Regions from separate parts of the Homo sapiens genome. Here all the other regions are linked to region 1. Evidence: promoter capture Hi-C in 16 types of primary human blood cells and fetal thymus (Javierre and others, 2016). All regions are on one chromosome and are shown on one strand. Each heading gives the region's core, a stretch centred on a gene start or on the middle of the fragment in contact. The rest is flanking DNA. Distances are from core to core; before and after follow the strand shown.

What was found. The method cuts DNA at HindIII sites, captures the fragments that hold promoters and counts their contacts. A CHiCAGO score of 5 or more calls a contact.
Region 2: a contact is called between the fragment with the promoter of LMBR1 here and the fragment with the promoter of PAXIP1 in region 1, in 1 of 17 cell types (neutrophils). The highest score is 5.8, in neutrophils.
Region 3: a contact is called between a fragment that was not itself captured here and the fragment with the promoter of PAXIP1 in region 1, in 1 of 17 cell types (total B cells). The highest score is 5.1, in total B cells.
Region 4: a fragment that was not itself captured here is called in contact with the fragment with the promoter of PAXIP1 in region 1 in 1 of 17 cell types (monocytes); the score reaches 7.4 in monocytes.

What each region holds. Positions count from the first base shown.
Region 1 is chr7:155,000,944-155,004,373 of GRCh38, reverse strand. PAXIP1 (PAX interacting protein 1) reads left to right here and starts at 1,250. Exons shown (of 21, transcript NM_007349.4): 1 at 1,250-1,525. The coding sequence starts at 1,445. It overlaps PAXIP1-DT (PAXIP1 divergent transcript), which reads right to left and starts at 941. Exons shown (of 1, transcript NR_028090.1): 1 at 1-941. RefSeq lists an enhancer at 1-355 and silencers at 600-679, 700-1,389, 1,420-1,789, 1,960-2,109. The HindIII fragment of the contact is 20,481 bases long and covers 1-3,430 here.
Region 2 is chr7:156,891,003-156,894,432 of GRCh38, reverse strand. It overlaps LMBR1 (limb development membrane protein 1), which reads left to right and starts at 1,250. Exons shown (of 17, transcript NM_022458.4): 1 at 1,250-1,505. The coding sequence starts at 1,440. LOC102723795 (a long non-coding RNA gene) reads right to left here and starts at 1,035. Exons shown (of 4, transcript XR_928253.3): 1 at 770-1,035. RefSeq lists silencers at 1,029-1,608, 1,659-2,158. The HindIII fragment of the contact is 17,725 bases long and covers 1-3,430 here.
Region 3 is chr7:156,776,921-156,780,350 of GRCh38, reverse strand. The region is part of intron 5 of LMBR1 (limb development membrane protein 1); the gene reads left to right. Among named protein-coding and RNA genes, the nearest start is that of LMBR1, 110 kb to the left of the region's middle. The HindIII fragment of the contact is 208 bases long and covers 1,422-1,629 here.
Region 4 is chr7:156,632,347-156,635,776 of GRCh38, reverse strand. All of the region lies in intron 1 of RNF32-DT (RNF32 divergent transcript), which reads left to right. It also overlaps the pseudogene RPL26P23. Among named protein-coding and RNA genes, the nearest start is that of RNF32-DT, 6.5 kb to the left of the region's middle. The HindIII fragment of the contact is 249 bases long and covers 1,622-1,870 here.

The DNA.
Region 1 (3,430 bases), core at 1-2,500:
CCTGAACTCAGGCAATCCGCCCACCTCGGCCTCCTAAAGGATAGGATTACAGGCGTGAGCCACCGCGCCCGGCCCCTTCTCTTTTTTAAAACCAATTTCACTAACATTTACTTAAAAATGATTTTCTGCTTGGCAGAAGTGACTTAAGGCATGTGGGGGAGACACTGCGGGTCTGTCTCAGATTCCTTTAGACACCAATGCTCCACAGTTTTACGACTAGGTAATAGTCCGATAATCACCCATGAGTTCCTGGACTCCGGTTTGTTGTGGGATTGGAAATAAACGAGAAAGGCTGCGTTCATCATCATGGCCTTAATTTCTTCTCCCAACTTCCGGTCGTGCAGGTGTCTTGGGCAGGTGATCCCGAGGCCACTCTGCCGTGTTCTGTGAATCTTGGCGGAAGGGAGGCGAGCTGTAAATAAAAGCGTGACCATTAGAATCGCCGCTGTGTAGTATTAACCTGTTGAGCGCGGGGCTTCCCGGGGCTGGAGCTGCACCGCGGGCTCTGCTGTCTGGGACTCTCCTCCAGCGCGGACCCGACAGGACGCCAGGGACCAGGCCGGTCCGGCCGGGACAGCGGGGCCTCGGGCAGCGACGGGGCCGGGCCTCCCCCCAGCACGTCCCCAGCTCGGGCACTGAGGCCTTGCGGAGACCCCAGGACTCGCCGCGGAGGCCACCAGTGCGCGTCTCGCGTGGCGCTACGGCCTCGGGAATTCCGTCACGGCATAGCCGGGTCCAGCGCGGTGTAGACCGGGGCCCCGCGCCTTGCTCGGCCAGAGCGGCTCAGGTACTACTCCAGGTCCGGCCGCACTCGCGGCCACTGCGAACAGCCGGGACACCCAATCCCACTCCGCCCAGGGCCAAGAAGCCCGAGGAGGCCGCAGAACCGCTCCCGCTCCCACTCGCGGCCCCAAGGCCCCACCCCCCCCTCCGCCGCGCGCATGCGCCGCCCCCGAGCAGCCGCATGTGGCGACGGGAGGGGCCTGCCAGCTCCCCTCCTCCCCGGGACCGGCTCACTCCGGCCCCGCCGAGGGGGGAGCTGGTTTCCCCTCGTCCTCGGGGCCCCCTCGTTGCAGAGCGGCGGCCACGGAACCGCAAGGGCCAGAGCGGGCTGCCGGCGCCAGCTACCCCGGAGCCGTGGCTGGCGGCAGAGGCGCGGGGCGTCACTGGAGGCCGGGCGGCTCCTCGGCGCTCCCCCTCGGTGGCCGGGGCGGGATGGTGCGTCCCGCAGGGCGCGCGCGGCTCCCGCGCTTCGGGCGCTCGGCGCGGGCGCGGGCGGGGGCGCGGAGGGCGGGGGAGCGGACCCCGATTCGCAGGACCGGGCCCGGGCTGCGCGGGCAGGGCCGTTGGCGGGGCGAGTGGGGGCGCCGGGCGCCGCGGGGGCCGGGGGCGGGGGGTGGGCGGGGCCGGGCGCCGCCGCGGAGCCTCCCGGGCCGCCGCGATCATGTCGGACCAGGCGCCCAAAGTTCCTGAGGAGATGTTCAGGGAGGTCAAGTATTACGCGGTGGGCGACATCGACCCGCAGGTACCGCGCCCGCCCCTGCCGCGGCCTCCTCCCCCGTCCGCGTCCCCGTCCGTCCCCGTCCCCGTCCCCGTCCCCGCTCCTGCCGCGGGCGCGCGCCGGGCGCAGAGCGTCGGGTCCGCCGAGGCCGCTGGCCTGACTGCGCTGAGGGCAGGGGCGACCGCGGGGTGGGCGCGGGAGGCCCGGGCCCGGGGGAGTGCGGGAGGGAAGGCGGCTGGGGCTCTGTACCTCGGCCCCTAGTGCGCGCCCTGAGCCCCCGGCCTGCGGCCCTGGGGTCGCCGCCCCCGACCCACCGGGCCGCCTCGTTCTCTGCTCCTTTGCTGAGCGGGACGGGCGCGGGGTCGCGTCTCCCCATTCCCCGCGCCGGGCGTCTCGGCTCCCGGGAGAGCAGCTCCGAGGGCGGACGAGGGGCGCCGGGATCCCCAGCCGGGGCAGCTCGCGCGGGGACCCCAGCCTCGCTCGGCCGGCGGGGGTCGTGGCCGTGCACCGGCTTGGCCGCCTCCGCCACCCGGGCAGCTGCCGTCCTGTGCGGGGCTGAGGAGCGCTCCCTTCCAGCCTGTGTCCCTGCACGTGGGGGCTGGCATTCGTCTTCCTTGATTTTCCCACTTGGACGATTAATTTTACGGTACCCTGGTAACACCATCACATTACACATTTAATTTTGTGTAGTTTGGGCTCACGCCAAAGGATATTGTGGGTTTTCCTTAGTATTCCTATAATAATATATCTGTTTGATGTCACACAGTTATCAGTCCGTGGTAGGAATGCATCTTAGTTGAATATCCTCTTCAGGTTAATCTTCAAAATATTTCCTTCTTAAAAGTTTAGCTGTACAGTTGTGTTGCCTTGGGTGTGACATCAGTGGCCCCCACCTTGGAGGATGGGGATCCCCAGTGATCAGAGTTAGGCCTGGAAGGGCGGAGACTCATATTTCGCAGATGAACTTGGATGGTGTAGAAGGAATTGTAGAAGGCTGAGTGATCTTGGCCTTCTTGAGGTTCGTCCTTGTAACAACTTTTTGGACCCTTTTTGCCCTGTAACTTTAGGGTAAAGAGACTTCAAGGCCGGGTTTACCCCTGTAATCCCAGCACTTTGGGAGGCCAAGGCGGGTGGATCACCTGAGGTCATGAGTTCGAGACCAGCCTGGCCAACATGGTGAAGCCTCATCTCTACTAAAAATACAAAAATTAGCCGGGCGTGGTGGCGGGCGCCTGTGGTCTCAGCTACTCGGGAGGCTGAGGCAGGAGAATTGCTGGAACCTGGGAGGTGGAAGTTGCAGTGAGCCGAGATCGCGCCACTGCACTCCAGCCTGGGCAACAACAGCTAGACTCCGTCTCAAAAAAAAAAAAAAAGCCTTCTATCTTTGAATTTACAGAGTAAAACAGTTGCTGAACACGGAGCGATGAAGATGAGTGCCTGTAACAGTGTTAGCTTTTTCCAGTATTGATGATTCCCCCGCCCCTCTTTTTTTTGTTTGTTTTTTTGTTTTTGTTTTTTGCTATCCACCATTTTTCTCTTCCCCCTCCTTCCTAGCCTTCGTGTTTCATTTTAGGACTTTGGCTCTTATAGGGGACTTGAACCAAATGTTACTTAAAACCTGGAACAAGTTGAACTGGAACCATATTTACTCGACTTTGAATCAAATCTAAGTGCTTAAAAATGTCCTTGGCAAACCACTTTCATCTGAAACAGTATATTTTCTGAAAAGTTTTGAGCCTGGACATCTGATTCTCTGACTCTTATGACTGTGGATTATAAGTTCACATGTTGACCATCTAATATGAGGCAGGCATGGACTAGGTGCCAGGTATAATACAGAGGTGAAGAGGACATGGTACCTGCCCTTTAGCGCCCCTCATTGGTGGGGGAGGGAGCACACCTGGACATATCACAGTACAAGGTGTAGCA
Region 2 (3,430 bases), core at 1-2,500, 1.9 Mb before region 1:
AGATTCATAAAAATCTAAACAACGGCCGGGCGCGGTGGCTCAGGCCTGTAATCCCAGCACTTTGGGAGGACGAGGTGGGCGGATCACCTGAGGTCAGGAGTTCAAGAACAGCTTGGCCAACGTGGTGAAACCCCGTCTCTACTAAAAATACAAAAATTAGCTGGGCGTGGTGGCGGGCGCCTGTAATCCCAGCTACTCGGGAGGCTGAGGCAGGAGAATCACTTGAACCCAAGAGGCAGAGGTTGTTGTGAGCAGAGATCGCCATTGCACTCCAGCCTGGGCGACAAGAGTGAAACTCTGTCTCAAAAAAAAAAAAAACAAAAACAAAAACTAAATGACATTTGAAAGCAATTTGTAGATTTTCACACTTCCTAAGAATTCTCAAAGATGCCAAAAACAAAAATCGCAGCCACTAGCAATTTAAATGACTTCCTCGTAGCCAAATAAATCCTAAGGTAAAATTATAAACATTCCCTTAAATTCAAATTTTATAACAAAAAGAAAGATAATAGGGAACGGAGGGTGAATTATTGTGTTTGATATATTTGGCGGTGAAAAATACATATATTACGTGCTGTTTAGGGTCCACTGAGAGTCATAAAACTGACCCTAGTGACCGAGCTACCGGAAGGACTTGGCAAGGGTCTAGCGAGCTCGGTTATCTGCGTTTTCCAGGTGGGGCAGCCCAAGACCCTTCTCAGACCCAGAGAAGCTGGGTTTCCGCCCAAAGCCCGGCCCCAAACCACCGATTTCCGACCTTTCAACCTACTTTGGCAGAGCAAGAGTTTCCGCGGGAGACTCCCTGCTTCCCTCTGCCCAGGTCCCCTGAGGCCGAGTGCGGTACTGAGTGCTGAGTAAGGGGTGCCGAGTGCCAAGCACTGAGTAACTGGGGGAGGGGAACCATGCAGCTGTCATAAATAATTAGCTCCTGTGAGGAACAGGAACTCCGAGACTGCGGCCGGGCCAGGTGGGCAGAGGTCGCAGCGCCCTCGCCGCGTTCCCCGTCCCCATCCGACGCCAGGACAGCGCCTCCTTAACTGGGGTAGCCCCTGAGAGCGTGGGCGGAGCCCCGCCCCGCGACCTCAAGGCCCCGCCCCCTCAGCGCCTCCCGGCCCAGCAGCTCGGAAGACCGCGAGGCGCGCTTTTCTGACGCATCGGCGCCTTTCGTCTGACGTATGCCTGCACCGCCCCCTCCCCTCCCTGCCCCGCCCCCGCCCCGCCCCCGACTGCGCGGCGCCCGCCCTCCCTTAGTCAGAGCTGCTCGTCTGAGGCTGCTGAGGCGACGGCCGGTGTCGTGGTCGCGGTACCTGTTCCAACACGGCTCGCGGGCCCGTGCCGGCTCCGGTCCCCGGCGCGGCTGTCCGAGCCCCTGCGGCGGGCGGACGATGGTGTGGCGGAGCACGCGGACGCGGGCGGCGCGGCGGCGGGCATGAAGGAGGATGGAAGGGCAGGACGAGGTGTCGGCGCGGGAGCAGCACTTCCACAGCCAAGTGCGGGAGTCCACGGTGCGTGGGGACCGAGGCAGCCCTGACAGTCCCGCGTGCCCGCCCGGGCCCTCCGTCCCCGCCCCCGGGCCCCCGGTCCCCGGACCCCTCACCTCCGGGCCTCGCCTCGCGCCTCCCGCCCCGGCCTCTGCCGCTCTCCCTCCCCACCCCTCCTCTCCCCTCCCCTCCCCTTCCCTCCCCACCTCTCCTCTCCCCTCCCCTCCCCTTCGCTTCCTCTGCCTGCCCCCCCGCTCCGCTCTTGCCTCCCCTGCCCCCTCGCGCTCCCTCCGTTCGAGCCCCGACCCCGCCCCCGCCCCGCGGCCTCGGTGCTGCCCTTCCCTTCCCGCGGGGAGGGCTGCGGTGCGCGCCGCGCTCTGGGACCCCAGGGGCTTCCTCTCTGGGCGGGTGTGCGGCTCGCGCCTCGGGGTGTGGACGGCGGCCCCGCCAGTGCGCGCCCCCGCGCTCCGCCGCCAGGCCAGGTAGGCAGGTGGATGCGCAGGCGTCCCGGAGAGCCTGGGTGGGCCCGGCGGGTCCGGGAAGGGCCGGGCTGCGCGGAGCCCGCCCGCCTCTCGCGTTTGGACCCGGCCGGTTACCTTGTCCCGGTCAACACCTCCTGCCCTCCTGGCGCCTCACGTTTCCATCCCTCTTTCATCTCCCCCAGCCCCCACGTGGGTTGAGTTCGAAACCTTACCGTTTGGGATGAGAATATTGGTTATTTTTGGGAGTGAGGACCTCAGCAAAAGTCCATTTTGCTATGGAAGCAACTTCTTAGGGAAGCAGCTTCTTTTTTGGCCCATGTTCCATGTGTGCTGTTGGCAGGAGTCAGGAAGCGGACTTGACCTTGGAAAGTCTACTTTGATGTTTTTATCTTTTCATGATGCTCTAGAATGTATTGTAATTGGGTTTATCTGTGTTTTCATAACTGTTGTAAAATATGTCAATTTTTTATGTTTATATTTACGCCTCTCCTAAGTTGTCTACGATTCAGTCACACTTGGTTTGAGGTGAAAAAATTCTGCTTTAGAATTATCTAATTTGTGTACTCACTGATCTTGAAAATTGAGAATCACTTTGGAAGTCATACTTTGAATAAAGAGGACATATAAAGTCTGAGCTGGTGGAATTTGAGTTAGTGGAATTTGGTACACATTTAGTTGTAATTTTTATAATTGAAGCTAAAATACACAGAGATAAGTTCATGTAATCATACATGTACCCTTCAGATCATTTCATACTAAACACGCCTGTGTACTCCTGAATCCACCAGGAGTTTGAGACTGGTCAGCCTGGGCAACATAGTGAATCCCCATCTCTACCATTATAAAAAAATAAATAAATAAACACAATTTTACTAGGATCCCAGAGACTGATTCCTTTCCCTCTTCCAATTACTTTCTCCTCCACCAAGGGTAAACGTTGCCCTGGCTTCTAATATCATAGATTAGTTTTTGCTTAGTTTTGAACTTTATGTAAATGGAATCTTACCGTATATACTCTTCTGTGTCCAGTTTCTTGTACAATGTTTGTGAAATTTCTCCATGTTGTATGTGGTTATAATTCATTCTCGGTGCAGTAGTTGTGTGACTATAGCACAATTTATTTTTCATTTTACTGTTGATGGGCACTTCAGTAGTTTCTAGGTTTTGGCTATGAATATATATATGTGTATATATATGTGTATGTATATATGTGTGTGTGTGTGTGTGTGTGTGTGTATATATATATATATATATATATTTTTTTTTTTTTTTTTTTTTTGTGATGGAGTCTCGCTCTGTCTCCCAGGCTGGAGTGCAGTGGCACAATCTCGGCTCACTGCAACCTCTGCCTCCGGGATTCAAGTGATTCTCCTACCTCAGCCTCCTGAATAGCTGGGATTACAGGCACACACCACCACACCCAGCTAATTTTTCTATTTTTATTAGAGACGGGGTTTCTCCATGCTG
Region 3 (3,430 bases), core at 276-2,775, 1.8 Mb before region 1:
GCAATGGAGATGTTAATTCAATGAACTGGCAATGTTGGTGTTTTTATTTTAGCTTACCCCAAGCACTTTCTTTTTGTCCAGCTTTAACAGCTTGAGCATCTTATAGTTTTAATTTTTTCATCTTGTATAGACCACATTAAGTATATTTGTGTATAAAATAGACTGCATAGCATATTAATATTAAAAAACATTTCACTGTTTTACTATAGACCTTAACAAAGCTTTTCACAAAGCCGTTTTCTCTGACGTGAGACCAAAGCTTTTTCGTGTATGCTCTTAATGATTACTTGGGAGCAAAGGGAGAAATGTTTGACACTCTCTAGAGATGCTTATTTGTAGTTTTTTCATGGCTTAAAATAAAATAATTAATACCTGCTTTTATTTTCTGTTCTTTATTAGTACTTCTACCGATCTTCCCCTGATGACTGTGTATATGTTTGGTGCAATCTTGATGCCATGCTGAGCAAACCTTATTTTAATGTTACTGAGAGACCCTTTTTGTTAAGTGAAAACAATAGCTTGATATTTATTTTAAATGTTCTGTGAATGTAGAAGTTTTCCCAGGCTTCCTAATGGGTAGAGACATAGTGTATGAAGTGGTTTTTACATCCCTTACAGGAGGGCAAGATGTCCAGGCAAAACCTTGTTTAAATGTTCATCACCATAGAAACATGACAGCTTCTCCATAGAGCTTTTGTAAGTACATTGTAATTTTCACTTCATTGATGTGAATTAAATGTATAATTGACCAGCACAAAAATTCCAAGAAGCAATTATATCATAACCATTTGAGTGTAGTAGACTATCCATTTAGTTCCCATTTAAATCTAAAAGAAATCTGTGTGTCTACAAGTGTTTAGTCTTTACTAATCTATTTCATCGAATTTAACCTTTTATAATATTGAGGTTGTTGTAATTTCAAAAAATGCTGGTATGAAATAACGTGATTAATTCTATAGCTTACTCAAAACAACTCATGTTTCATTGGCAGAAAAGTACTTAATTTCAGTGGTGTTTCTAATATACTGACTGCTTATTATACTGCAATTTTAATCAGAAGGAAGGAGTTTCGCTAAAGTAATTTAAACTTAACGGGTTTTTTTGTGGGGGATGGCAGGATAAGTGTTCATACTGGGAAATAAAAATATTGTGAAGTTCATGAAATCCTGGTGATATATGACATAATCTAAGCATTCAAAACTAGGTGAAGGAAGTACAGTTATTGATTAATAAATAGAAGTTCTTATAGTCCTGTGATCTTGTATTCAGGAGACTTTTTTCACTAGAGGAACAATGAAGACCTTCTTCCTTGTTTACAGTGTTTTGCCACTTTGTTGTTTGAAGCGCATTTTAATAAGTTATTCTGACATCTGGTACATCTTTTAGCTCAGTATATGCAAGAATGGAGTTGATAGGAAGCTTCCCCTCGGGGCTTTCTAGCTCCTGATTCTGACCCTTAATGGAAAAATGAGCAGTCGGCATATTTTTTGCTTATATGCTGTGCTGCTGGTGATTAATGGTGGTGATAAAAGTGCTCACAATGCTTTTCATTACTTTGTAGTCAGAATGGCATCCAAAAGTCTAACAATCTCACACATGGCATGCCATAAAGGCTGTGTTCTTGAAGCTTGGTAATATTTTTATGATCTCAAGAAAGATAGTGATAACAGCTTATAGATTTTGAGTACTTGTATATTTACTAGTGGAAGCTGAATTAACAAATGAAATTTCTGACTATAGTCTCATCATCTCTCTTCTCTCTAGCTCAAAGTTTTTGAAGGTAAAAAATTTGCCACCTTGCATTTAATGAACATATTTATCTTTTTAAAAGGTTTATGTAAAGCTCACGCATGTGGTATTTAATTGATTTTAAGTTGGACAGGTTTTGTCTCATTTAATCACAGAAAGAAAATAAAATTAACAAAAGGGAAAACTTAACTATCCTAGCCTCCCAGTGGATTAAGTCAGAATAACAGCTCTTTCTTACTATATCAGTTATCTTAATATTTCATAGGACAAGCATAATCATATTAAATAATTTTGATGGCTTGTACCGTGGCAGCCTTTTCTATTAGTATTGTTGATTTACTCTTGTAATGTAGATCGATAACTAGAAATGAGCAGATTTCTTTTTGTGAGTTATTTACTGACTTTCAAAAGAAATATTGACTAATTTGAAATAACTTTTTGAACAATTTATATGATTGACTACAGAGAGTTCTTTTGGCTAAATGTTTCTGAATGGACTGCTTAAACATGTGAGTATGTATTTCAGACAGTTCTTGTTATTATTTGTGTACCTATAATAGAAAAATCATCGTCTTGGATGGGTATGGTGGCAGTAGGAAAAGAAGGGATGAATTTGAGTTGTAATTACACAGTAGAATCAGAAGCACTTGGTGTTTGACTGGACCGAGGCTCAGGGTGTATGGTGGGGGTAGGGTATGGGGTTCAGCAGGAAAGGTAGGTGACAAGGGTGTTTCCAAAGTATCTGGCATAAACAACAAAGTGGGTAATGATGTCATGTTTTCAGGTATGTGATATTGAAGGAGGAGCAGAGATAGAGAATAAAATGATGAGTTTGGTCTTAGAATTAAGTTTAAGGTACTGGTGAGATGTCTAATGAAAGACGGCAGTTGGTGTATATGGTTCTTGGCCACAGCAGTAAGATTTGGACTAAAGATATAAACTTCAGAGTTGTTGGCTATTGGAAGAGGCAAGATCACTTAGGTAAAAACTGAGCAGTATATCTGTGAACCGTCTTCATCAGAATCAACTGAGTCACCACTTTGTGGTTGATGCTCAGGAACTGGCAGGCCCCTTGGTAATTATGATGCAGGTTGACATTTGAGAAGCACTGATATGACATGTGAGAAGATGAACATCTGAGATTGGGCCACAGGAGAAAAGGGATTCAAGGTATTTTCTTTTATAGAACGAAAGAATTAGAAATGGAAACAGTAGCTAAGGTGTAGAGGAGGGAAGGTGAGGGACTCACAGACCCCACTCAGCTGTGTCCTACTGAGGTAGAGGAAAGTCAATTGTAGTTGGAAGGAAGTAGAGGATGAGATTATAGATAAAAAAGAAAGGAAAACATTTTAAAAAATGTTGTGAAAGGCCAGGCGTGGTGACTGATGCCTGTAATCCCAGCACTTTGGGAGGCTGAGGTGGGCAGATCATGAGGTCAGGAGATCGAGACCATCCTGGTTAACACCGTGAAACCCCATCTCTACTAAAAATACAGAGATAATATTAGCTGGGCGTGGTGGCTGGCGCCTGTAGTCCCAACTACTCAGGAGGCTGAGGCGGGAGAGTGGCGTGAACCCAGGAAGCGGAGCTTGCGGTGAGCCGAGATCGTGCCACTGCGCTCCAGCCTGGGCGACAGGCGAGATTCCATCTCAAAACCAAAAAAAAAAAAAAAAGTTGTGAA
Region 4 (3,430 bases), core at 497-2,996, 1.6 Mb before region 1:
ATGCATTTAAAAAAATACCTGTGGCAGACATATCATGATGACATCATTCCTGTCAACATTAAAATAGTAGTAGAGAAACACTGATGAAAACACTTCCGACACTGGAGAAGAGAGGAGAAATCTTGTTTTCATTCTTACTCTATAATTTAAAGTCACGGGTATAACAAGCGAGCCTTTAAAAACTGTTTTCCGAATTAAAAAATGGAGCAAATTCATTCTTTGTTGTTGAATTCAATATACTTAGAAGTAATTTATCACTTTGGTAAAGAATAATGTCCTACTATGCCTTAATATCTGACACGATGGAGATATTCTTGCTATCTACACTGTGATCACCAGATACCAGACACTTCAAAAATGTTGCCAAAAGCTGTTAGGCATACTGATTGTATGAAAGGTGTTTGGGTAATGTGGACTCCTTTCAGACATTTGTGATTTTTCTGCCTTAATTGAAAGTTTTGACAGGTTTGTAAAAGCATAAATGTCAGGTTATTAGTAGAAACTCTAAAATAACCTGGGAAATAAATACATATACTGGTTTCAACCACTTTGGCTAAAGCTGAATGTCTCTAAAAATTGAATCAGCTGATGCTCTAATATGTTAAATATATCAAGAGACAGGATGTTTCCTGATCACATCCAGATAATTTTTTTAATTAATAGATTTATTTTCTTAATAAATTTTACAGATAAATTGAACAAATAATACAGAGAGCTCCCTCTCCTTGCAACAGTTTCCCCTATTTGCCATTTGTATGCTATATTTGTTAAAATTGATGTACAATAAGGTTGTTCATGTTTAATGTTGACTATGAAATTCTCCGCAAATAAAAGTATACCCCACAAGTACACAGGAGAGACCCCTTCTGCAGTTCTATTCATAGAGGCACAAGCAAAGGAACTATTGAGAGATAAGAGTCTCATGATAGCAGAAAAGTATTGATCCATGATCTTGGGAAAGCTGTCCACATCTAGGATGCTGTCTGCTTTTAGGGAGAAACTTTCCTGGTTAGCTTTACCTTAAGGTCTCCAACAAGTGTATAGATTGAAGAGTCTGGAGGGGCCCATTTCAGCTGTGAGATTGTAAACCCAAGGCTCAAGGTGCTGAAGTTTTGCTGCAGTGTAAGTGGCAGGGGCAGTCTTTCCCTGATGATGTTTCCAGAAGAGTCAGTTTCTAGGCTTTAGATCATGTAGGGTTTGTCCTCAGTGGACCATGGAAAGCTTTCTTTACCTGGTGAAAATAGACTTGGGCATAATGCATTAAAGCCTGGCAGCACTTAGTCATATCAGAGCTTAGGAGGAGAAGATGTGTGAGGTTTTATTATTAGGAGCATAGGCCTTCAGTGACTATTGCATAAGGGATCAACTTAACGTTTTGCACATGGAAGTGGATCTGTCATCAATCCGCAGTACTTTAGACCAAGGAAATCCAGTCAATTCAGTTAGCTTTGCCTGATGTGATTGTACCTATGATACCTTATCTCATTGTTTTACAACTTGTCTGATGAAACAAGTACCTCTATCACTAGCAATCTTTCCAGGTATGTCCCATGAGAGAAACATGTTTCCTAATAACCTTTTGTCTACTGTTACAGCACGAGACTTTTTGAATGGAAAAGCTTCTATACAATCAGAAAACATGCATTGAAAATGGCAATGGAATGAAATCCCTCTAAAAATGTTTCAGTGGCCTATAATGTAGCAGAAATGTACATGAAGTTTTGATTGCCTTCCCAGGATTGTAGATTTGACAAACCAAACATTGGACATAAACTATTTTAGCAATTTAGAACATGCCAATATTCTATTTGGATCATCTTACCTCTTCCATGATGGGCCTTGGAGTGTAGAGCTTTTAGTAATGGAAGCTTTAAGGATTCAGGAAGGACCAGGCATCTGTCCAGGCTCCATGAGTCCATCCTTAACATTAGATTTATATCTTCCTTTTGTTTTTCATTTCAAGTTTTAAAGCTTGTATATAAGATTACTTTATTCCTGCATCTTCTCAATTGTTTCTTCCTTGTATTTGCCCTTTTCCTACTTGGCGAGATTTGGCTTTCTGTTCAAGAATCTTTTTGCGGTCTATGTCCAGTTTTAGCCTAGTGATAACCACCTTGCTGGGGTGAATGCCTACATGGACAGTTGTGCCATTAGCCTTTTCCCACTGCACCCGTTCGATGTAGAGGACATATTTCTTCCTGTAAACCTGGACTACTCTGCCAATTGGCTAACCTTTATAGTGTCCTCGTACAACCTGAACTTCATCATCCTTTTGGATGGGCATGGATCACACGTTGTACTTCTGTCTCAGCTCTTTGGAAAGAGGGGAAGACATAGTCTTCCTGTAAATGTGGGAAGGTGCATTGAAATGCCTTTTGTGGTTCTTGTTTCGGTTGGAAGTCGCAAAGGGATTGAACTTCATTTTGGCGATTGCTGCTTCAGTGATAGCTGCAAAATGGAAGATTTATGTCTTCTTAAATATCAGTTTTGTTTCTCCAATTCACGTGCATAGCACTGTTTATTAGATGGGTTATCATAGGTAAATTTGACTTGGATCATGGAATTCATCTAAACTACATATCAAAACAATTTCAGTACTGGCTGACTTAGCTTGAAGATCTGGCAGAGTAGTTCCTTGGTATTCAATTAATTTTTATCCTAATTGGATTATCAGTTTCATAAGCCAGTCAGTGTGTTCATTAGAGTGCTGGTAATTCATACCCAGTCTAAACGATATGATCCTAAAGACATCAGAAACTTCGCATTCAAGAGTGCTTGTCAGGGTCCTTTCCATCCTTTTCATGAATCTCCTTGAAGGCATGATACTCTAGGATTTTACTTGCTTATAAACTTAACATAGCAAATAATCCTGTTTCTCTGTCTTTTGGATGCTGCAGGGGCCCTCTGTAGCATCCCAAAGTTAGTTTGAGGTAACAACAAAAAAAGACAATTTGAAATTTGATTTTGGGAAGGCTGTCAAATATGTCAAAGGCTTAAAATAATCAAAATAGGATCACAAGGCATTGTAAGATAATATTCATTTAGCCAAAGTGATAAAAGGGGTTAGAAAGCAAAAACCTTTCTTCTTTGATAGAGGGGAGACTCAGTTTTCCAATCAACAGATCTGAGAAAGACAGCATGAGACAGAATCTGTCTCCTTCTCTCCTCTGTCTCTCTTTTGCAGTTTACTCAAAAGGTGAACAAAAGTCTTTTACTACCTCTTATTAATAATACTACATGAAAATTCTTGTTCAAAAGGGAAAACCAAATTTTACTTTTGCATAGTGTATTATCAACACTAAGCTAATAAAACCTTATAAACAGATCTGTCCAATTTGTCATCTTTTGACCACAGAAAATTTCCATAAACTTTTTATAATCTCTTACAATTTTTTTATTCTTTCCAACTTTATTCATTTATCTTTCTTTT